Linked DNA regions of Homo sapiens: region 2 is linked to region 1. The links are contacts of gene promoters, found by promoter capture Hi-C in blood cells and fetal thymus (Javierre and others, 2016). All regions are on one chromosome and are shown on one strand. Each heading gives the region's core, a stretch centred on a gene start or on the middle of the fragment in contact. The rest is flanking DNA. Distances are from core to core; before and after follow the strand shown.

Region 1 (3,125 bases), core at 249-2,748:
ACGGCTGTCATCCCAGCACTTTGGGAGGCCGAGGCGGGTGGATCACCTGAAGTCAGGAGTTCGAGACCAGCCTGGCCAACATGGTGAAACCCTGTCTCCACTAAAAATAAAAAAATTAGCTGGGCGTGGTGACGGGTGCCTGTAATCACAGCTACTCGGGAGGCTGAGGCAGGAGAATTGGTTGAACCCAGAAGGCAGAGGTTGCAGTGAGCTGAGATCGTGCCATTGCACTCCGGCTTGGGCAACAAGAGCAAAACTTGGTGTCAAGAAAAAAAAAAAAGTACTTGATGCAAGAAATTAGACACTCTAATAGGACCACTGATACTCACTGTAGAAACAAAGCCAGGTTTCTCAAACAATGGGTCATGGAAAATCCAAGGAATAAGGTCTCTTACCCTTAGTGTTCCTCATTGTTCAAATGTGTACTGTAGAAGCATGGTCAAAATCTGAAAACATATGTTAGTGAGTTCTAGGAATGTGATAAGCCCTTGGCACTTTAAGGGCTAGACTAACTGTGCAGTTATGTAAAAACAAAAAAAAAATACCATAAAAGAATACTTACATTAACAAATGGGAAGAAAAAAGCCACATATAAGTATGTACATTGGGCTATCGTTTTATTAAAAAAGAATACTCCAAAATATAGTAGTGTTTATTTTTGGATAATGAGACTACAGGTGATTTTTGTTTTTTCTTTTGGTACTTCCCATGTTTCCCAAACTTTCTGTATTGAGCATGAATTACTCTCTTAAGTTACTTTACAAACATCTCAAGTTTGGTGCCAACTCTGTGTTCCCATATATGGTGTTGTTGCTGGACACCACGTATGACTCCAACGTGTCCAGAAACCACCGGGGTCCCCCAATAGGGCTAGTAGCAATCTAGCAGCAACTCCAGGCCTGTAAGGGGTTAGTGCTAGAACATTACCCACCTCAGTGGCTCTGATCAGTTTGGGAAAACCTCAATAATTATCCAACTTGGTAAAATACTTTAGGTGTCCCCTTTGAACCAAAAGAGATCTCTGAAAAGGCCCAAGGAACTACTTTATACATCCTCTACACGTTTAAGATAATCTGAACACATAGTAGAGATCTGCCAGACTATGGACATGGGAGCTGTAATCCTCACAAGCCGGGAGAGCCGGGGAGAGGGTCCGAGTGGGCCGGCGCGGGGGGCGCCAGGTTGCCAGCCCCAGACCCGAAATCCCAGGCAGGCCCAGGGAGAGGGGACTCTCGGGTGGCTTCTCCTTACTTCGTGTCTTTGCCTTTGCTCTTGCCTTTCTTTTTGTCCTTTCCCTTCGACGGCATCTTGGCTTCCCCAGGGGCTCCGCTGTCGTAGTTGCCCAGCCGCGGCCGCCCTGGCCAGCTCTGTCTCCAAGGGAACCGGGACGCCGAGCTGGCAATGCCCCACCCGCGCCGCTGACGGCGCGCGGAGAGCGCACGCGCCCGTGACGTAGCCCAGGCGCCGCGGCGCGCGGGGTGGGGCGGAGGTCGCGCCGAGGGCGGCGGGCTGCCGCGCAAGGGTGGCGCGCGCGCGGTGAGTGTGCGAGTGTCGGCGGCGCCGGATCCTCTACGTGGGGCCCGGGCTCTGCGGGCGGGAGGCGGGAGCTGGCAGCCCCAGGCGGTAGCGCTTCGTCCTGCGGCCTGGGTGTGTCAGGAGTCGCTGCGGTCGGGGCGCCCTTGCCTCAGGAGACTTAGATCCCCGCTGATCCGCCCGTCCCGCCGCAGTGGTCTGAGCCGCAGCCCTTTCCCGTGCCGCCCGCGGGTCCCGTTCCTCCCGTGTCTCCATGCCGCAGCCAGCGTGGCCGCGGCTACCTTGCCCTCGCCCCCGCTCCGCTTCTGCCGCTCCCGGCACTGCCTTACTCCTTTGGGTTGCATCTCTTTCCTGGCTTTTCACCCTTGCTGATTCTGTAAGGGATAGTGCAGCCAGCGGACGTCCCAGGCCAAATGTTTTTTGATAGGCAGTCGAGGACTTTCCCGAGGGCGGTGGTTGAGGGCGAGGCTGCCAGCCTCCGAAGAGCAGCGGCACGCCAGGGAGCCGGGCGGGGAGGGGAGTGCTGCCACCGAGGTCGGGAGCAGGGTCCTCGGCCTCACTAGGTCCTGTGTGGCCGATACTTCCTGCCCACGACCGCCCCCCGGATTTCCATTTGCTAATACCGGTCCGCAGCCTTCTTTCCTGAAAGTTGCATAAAGTTGGAAGCTCTTCAACTTGCCTCCCCGACTCCTGAAATCCCGAATACACCTCTGAAAAGGAGTGTACTCACAAGTATTCTCATTTTTCAATGAGAGTCAGTCAGTGAGTCATTAAGGAAGGTACGGTATTCTGAGTGCCAAGCCAATAGTTAGGAGACTTGTGGTTGAAGCTCTGCTCTGTTATACTCCATTTCAAATTAAAAAGTTTATTTTAAATGTGGTTGTAGATCCTTCGTCACCATTTCTCTAGGGAGGACTTAATCCGTACACTCCTTCCCGATGTCTTTGACCTCTAATTACTCCCCTCCGCCTTGTTTCCCACTTGCATAGTTTCTGTTTCTGAATTTCTGTTTCTTCTGAGGGAACATGCCGATTTGGTAATGATAAGCCTTGTAAACTTTTTTTTTTTTTTTTCTGAGAGAGAGTCTTCTGTCACCCAGGCTGGAGTGCAGTGGGGCATCTCGGCTCCCTGCAACCTCCACCTCCTTGGTTCAAGCGATTCTCCTGCCTCAGCCTCCCCAGTAAGTGGGACTACAGGTGCATGCCACCACACCCGGCTAATTTTTGTATTTTTGGTAGAGATGGAGTTTCACCATGCTGGCCAGGCTGGTCTCGAACTCCTGGCCTCAGGTGATCCACCTGCCTCGGCCTCCCAAAGTGTTGAGATTACAGGCGTGGGCCACCGCCCCGGCTGTAAACCTTTTTTTTGAGACAAGAGTTTTGCTCTTGTTGCCTAGGCTGGAGTGCAATGGCGCAATCTCGGCTCACCACAACCTCTGCCTCCCGGGTTCAAGCAATTCTCCTGCCTCAGCCTCCCCAGTAACAGACTATAGGTGCGTGCCACCATGCCAGGCTAATTTTTGTATTTTTGGTAGAGACAGAGTTTCACCATGCTAGCCAGGCTGGTCTTGAACTCCTGGCCTCAGGTGATCC
Region 2 (3,125 bases), core at 216-2,715, 990 kb after region 1:
GCCTCAGCCTACCGAGTAGCTGGGATTACAGGCATGCATCATCACGCCCGGCTAATTTTGTATCTGTTAGTAGAGATGGAGTTTCTCCATGTTGGTCAGGCTGGTCTCGAACGCCCGACCTCAGGTGATCCGTCCACCTCGACCTCCCAAAGTGCTGGGATTACAGGCATGCGCTACCGCGCCCAGCCTGAGAAGTTCTGAAACTATAGAAGGAAAGATCAGAAAAATAATAGGTAGGAAAAAAAATTCATGGTTGGCTTGGAGAATACCCTTGAAGGGTGTTAAGTAAAAATGATAGGAGGCCTTTGTTTTGGACTAAACTCCTGCACCAGGCCCCAATAGACCTGGCTAAAATAAAAATGGAGTCACCCATGCTAAAGTTTCACCTCACCAAATCCAAACTAAGTTGTTACCAAACCCAAGCTAAGTTGTTATCTGACCTTCAGAGAAATCAGGAAAGAGGGATAAGGACAGCCAGTTTCCCAAACAGGCTTGTTTTAATGTTGCATGATAATGAAGCTCCCTCTGTTGTAATCCTTACACAAAAGAAGTAGCCTGAAGTAACTGATGTCAACTAATCAGTTATTTTTCTATTGTTCTGTCTCTCTGTCCTCACCTTCCAAGGAAAGTAGCTTAGAAGTGACCAATATGTCAAGGTCCCATGAGAAGACTGAAAAAAAGAGAAGAAAGAGGAAAGAAAAGAATGACAAGAAAGAGAAAGAAAGAAACCAATATGCTCTTTGTTCTTTGCTTTTGCTTCCTCAAGCTTTTCTCTGTCTACAAAGCCAACCTCTCCTGCTCAGCTCATCAGAACATTCACTCCACTTTCTGGAATGAAGTGTTGCCTGATCCTAGAGTCGCAATAAAGCCAACTGAGATCTTAAAACTAAATTCGTTGTAATTTTGTCCTTTGCCAAGGGGGGAAAAACAACAAAAACTTCCCAAGAGTACCTATATCCTCTTATCACTTTTTCTGGTCTTTTCCTTAGTTTTTGCGAAGTGAAATTGGGAAGGTGGAGACTGTCTGTGCTCACACGTTTCTGAGGGAATGGTGTGCAAGAGGTTACTTGAATCCAAATTAATTGACTCACCATTTCCCACTTATACTAGACATTATTACATCAGTTCTCTAATGTAGCACCATGCCTTCCCCAGTTACAACCCAAAAGAACGTGCTGAAACCTGCGGACACCACACTCAATGCAAAAACTCCAAGTCCCGAAATCCTCCGTAGCCTGTCCCCACCGCCTCCTCGCAAGAGCAGCCTCTTCAGTACTGGGAGTTGTAGTCATTCAGAGTCTTCCTTTCCGGGATGAGGGGCGAGAGCGCGCCTCGAGGAGCTACATCTCCCAGGAGGCAGTGCGCACTACGCCCTTGCTGGCGCCGGGATCCTCCCTCTCTCGCTCCTCCCTTTCTGGGCTGCACCGCTCACGCCTTCCTGTTAGTCCGAGCTGGGAGAAGTTCACTCCGATCAGCTGATCCCAACTGACAACAGGAGAGGAGGAAGCCCGGGAGGCAACGAAGGAGGAGGGTGGCGGAGATGGAGATGAGGATGGATCTGCCGGTGTCCTGAGGAATAGCCTCTGCCCCCACTGGCGCCCTGCGGCCCCCCGACGCCGCCTTGCTGCGGCCGAGCTTCTCAGTGGTGGGATCCCCGGGCCGCGGCGGGCAGGGCAGGGCGGGGAGGGCACGGCCCAGCGCGGGGCGAGTGATCGTCCTGGGGCTCAGGCTGCCCTCGGGAGGAAGGGGGGGCGGGTGCGGCGGGGGTGGGGGTGGGGTGGTATAAACAATGGATTCGGCTCCGGGTTTTGCCGGCGTGGGGGGGATTTTGGGGGACCTTCTTTGTTCTTAGGCTCCGCTCCTGCCCCTCGGGTTGTGGCGGTGGTGTCCGGGTGGAAGGAAGGGTGAGGAACCCCCGGCTGGGGAGAGGTGTCGAGGTGGGGGCCCGAGTGGGCAAAATGTTTGGTTGACATGGCCGGGCGTGAGGTGTACTTTTGAAGGTTGATTTTATATTTTTCTCAATTGTGACAAGTTTGATTTTTGTTTCTGTTTTGGGAGCTGGCTGGGCATGTCTGAGGTTAGATTGTAGTAAATAAGATCCCCTAGTCACTCCCTTCGCCTTCCTTGTTTATCTGAAAATAAGGTTGATAGATTGATTACTGTAGGGGAGGAGTGACTATCAGAAAGGCAGGGCTTTACACCTTGTCGGGGCCTTGGAATGCGGGTCAAGGCTAGGGGGAATTAGGAATATAATTGTCAAAGTGACAAAAGCCCCTTTCTTGCCCCAGTTATCTTTTTTCGTATTTTGAAGTTATTTTTAAGTTAGTTTTTAAGTGACAAAGAGAAAAATTATTTGTTTTGATTCACTGCAGGCCTGGCTTTGCCATGGGTCAAAGTAGAGGAATTGTCTCCTGTTGCTCCTTTTTTTTTTTTTTTTCAGTTAGTGAAAGAAGGGACAGAAGAATTACAGTGTAAAAAAATTGTTTTTAAAGATGAAATTGTTACTATTGTTTCTAAGTTTTGAGTCTTTAATATACATCTAGCTAGAGTTGAAACAATCCAGTTACAAGGCTAACCAGGTCGGCCCAGGTATTTGATAGATCTAAAGTTTATTATTACATTTTCATTAGCTTTGTGAAGGCCTCTCCACTCCTCCCAATTGTGGGATGCATGTGGGGGTGCAGAGGGCTGTCCTTCCAAGGACTACTCACTTAGTGATTTAGATTCTGAATTTAATATCTGAATGAACAGAAAATTCCAGTCTGGGAAATAGAGCAGCAAAGTCTCTTAAATGCCTTGGGCCTAGAGGTGGCGTTTGTTGTCAAGAGGAGGAGCTTTAGCCACAATTTTGAGATTTTTTTTTTTTTTTTTTTTTTTGAGGGAGTCTTGCCCTGTCTTCCAGGCTGGAGTGCAGTGGCAAGATCTTGGCTCACTGCAACCTCCGCCTCCTGGGTTCAAGTGATTCTCCTGCCTCAGCCTCCCTAGTAGCTTGGATTACACGTGCCTGCCACCATGCCCAGCTAATATTTGTATTTTTAGTAGAGATGGGATTTCACCATGTTGGACAGGGTAGTCTCGAACTCCTGACCTCAAGTGATCTGCCCACCTCGGCCTCCCAAAGTGAT

Evidence for each region. Contacts are between HindIII fragments. The CHiCAGO score rates a contact against its expected background, and 5 or more counts as called.
Region 2: the fragment with the promoter of ZFYVE1 here is called in contact with the fragment with the promoter of ENTPD5 in region 1 in 1 of 17 cell types (fetal thymus); the score reaches 5.1 in fetal thymus.

Annotation. Positions count from the first base shown.
Region 1 is chr14:74,017,661-74,020,785 of GRCh38, reverse strand. It overlaps ENTPD5 (ectonucleoside triphosphate diphosphohydrolase 5 (inactive)), which reads left to right and starts at 1,498. Exons shown (of 16, transcript NM_001249.5): 1 at 1,498-1,536. It overlaps BBOF1 (basal body orientation factor 1), which reads right to left and starts at 1,437. Exons shown (of 12, transcript NM_025057.3): 1 at 1,252-1,437. The coding sequence starts at 1,307. RefSeq lists silencers at 1,321-1,570, 1,601-1,670, 1,681-1,820, 1,861-1,930, 1,846-2,140. The HindIII fragment of the contact is 9,186 bases long and covers 1-3,125 here.
Region 2 is chr14:73,025,446-73,028,570 of GRCh38, reverse strand. ZFYVE1 (zinc finger FYVE-type containing 1) reads left to right here and starts at 1,465. Exons shown (of 12, transcript NM_021260.4): 1 at 1,465-1,645. RefSeq lists an enhancer at 1,123-1,322 and a silencer at 1,553-1,762. The HindIII fragment of the contact is 5,815 bases long and covers 769-3,125 here.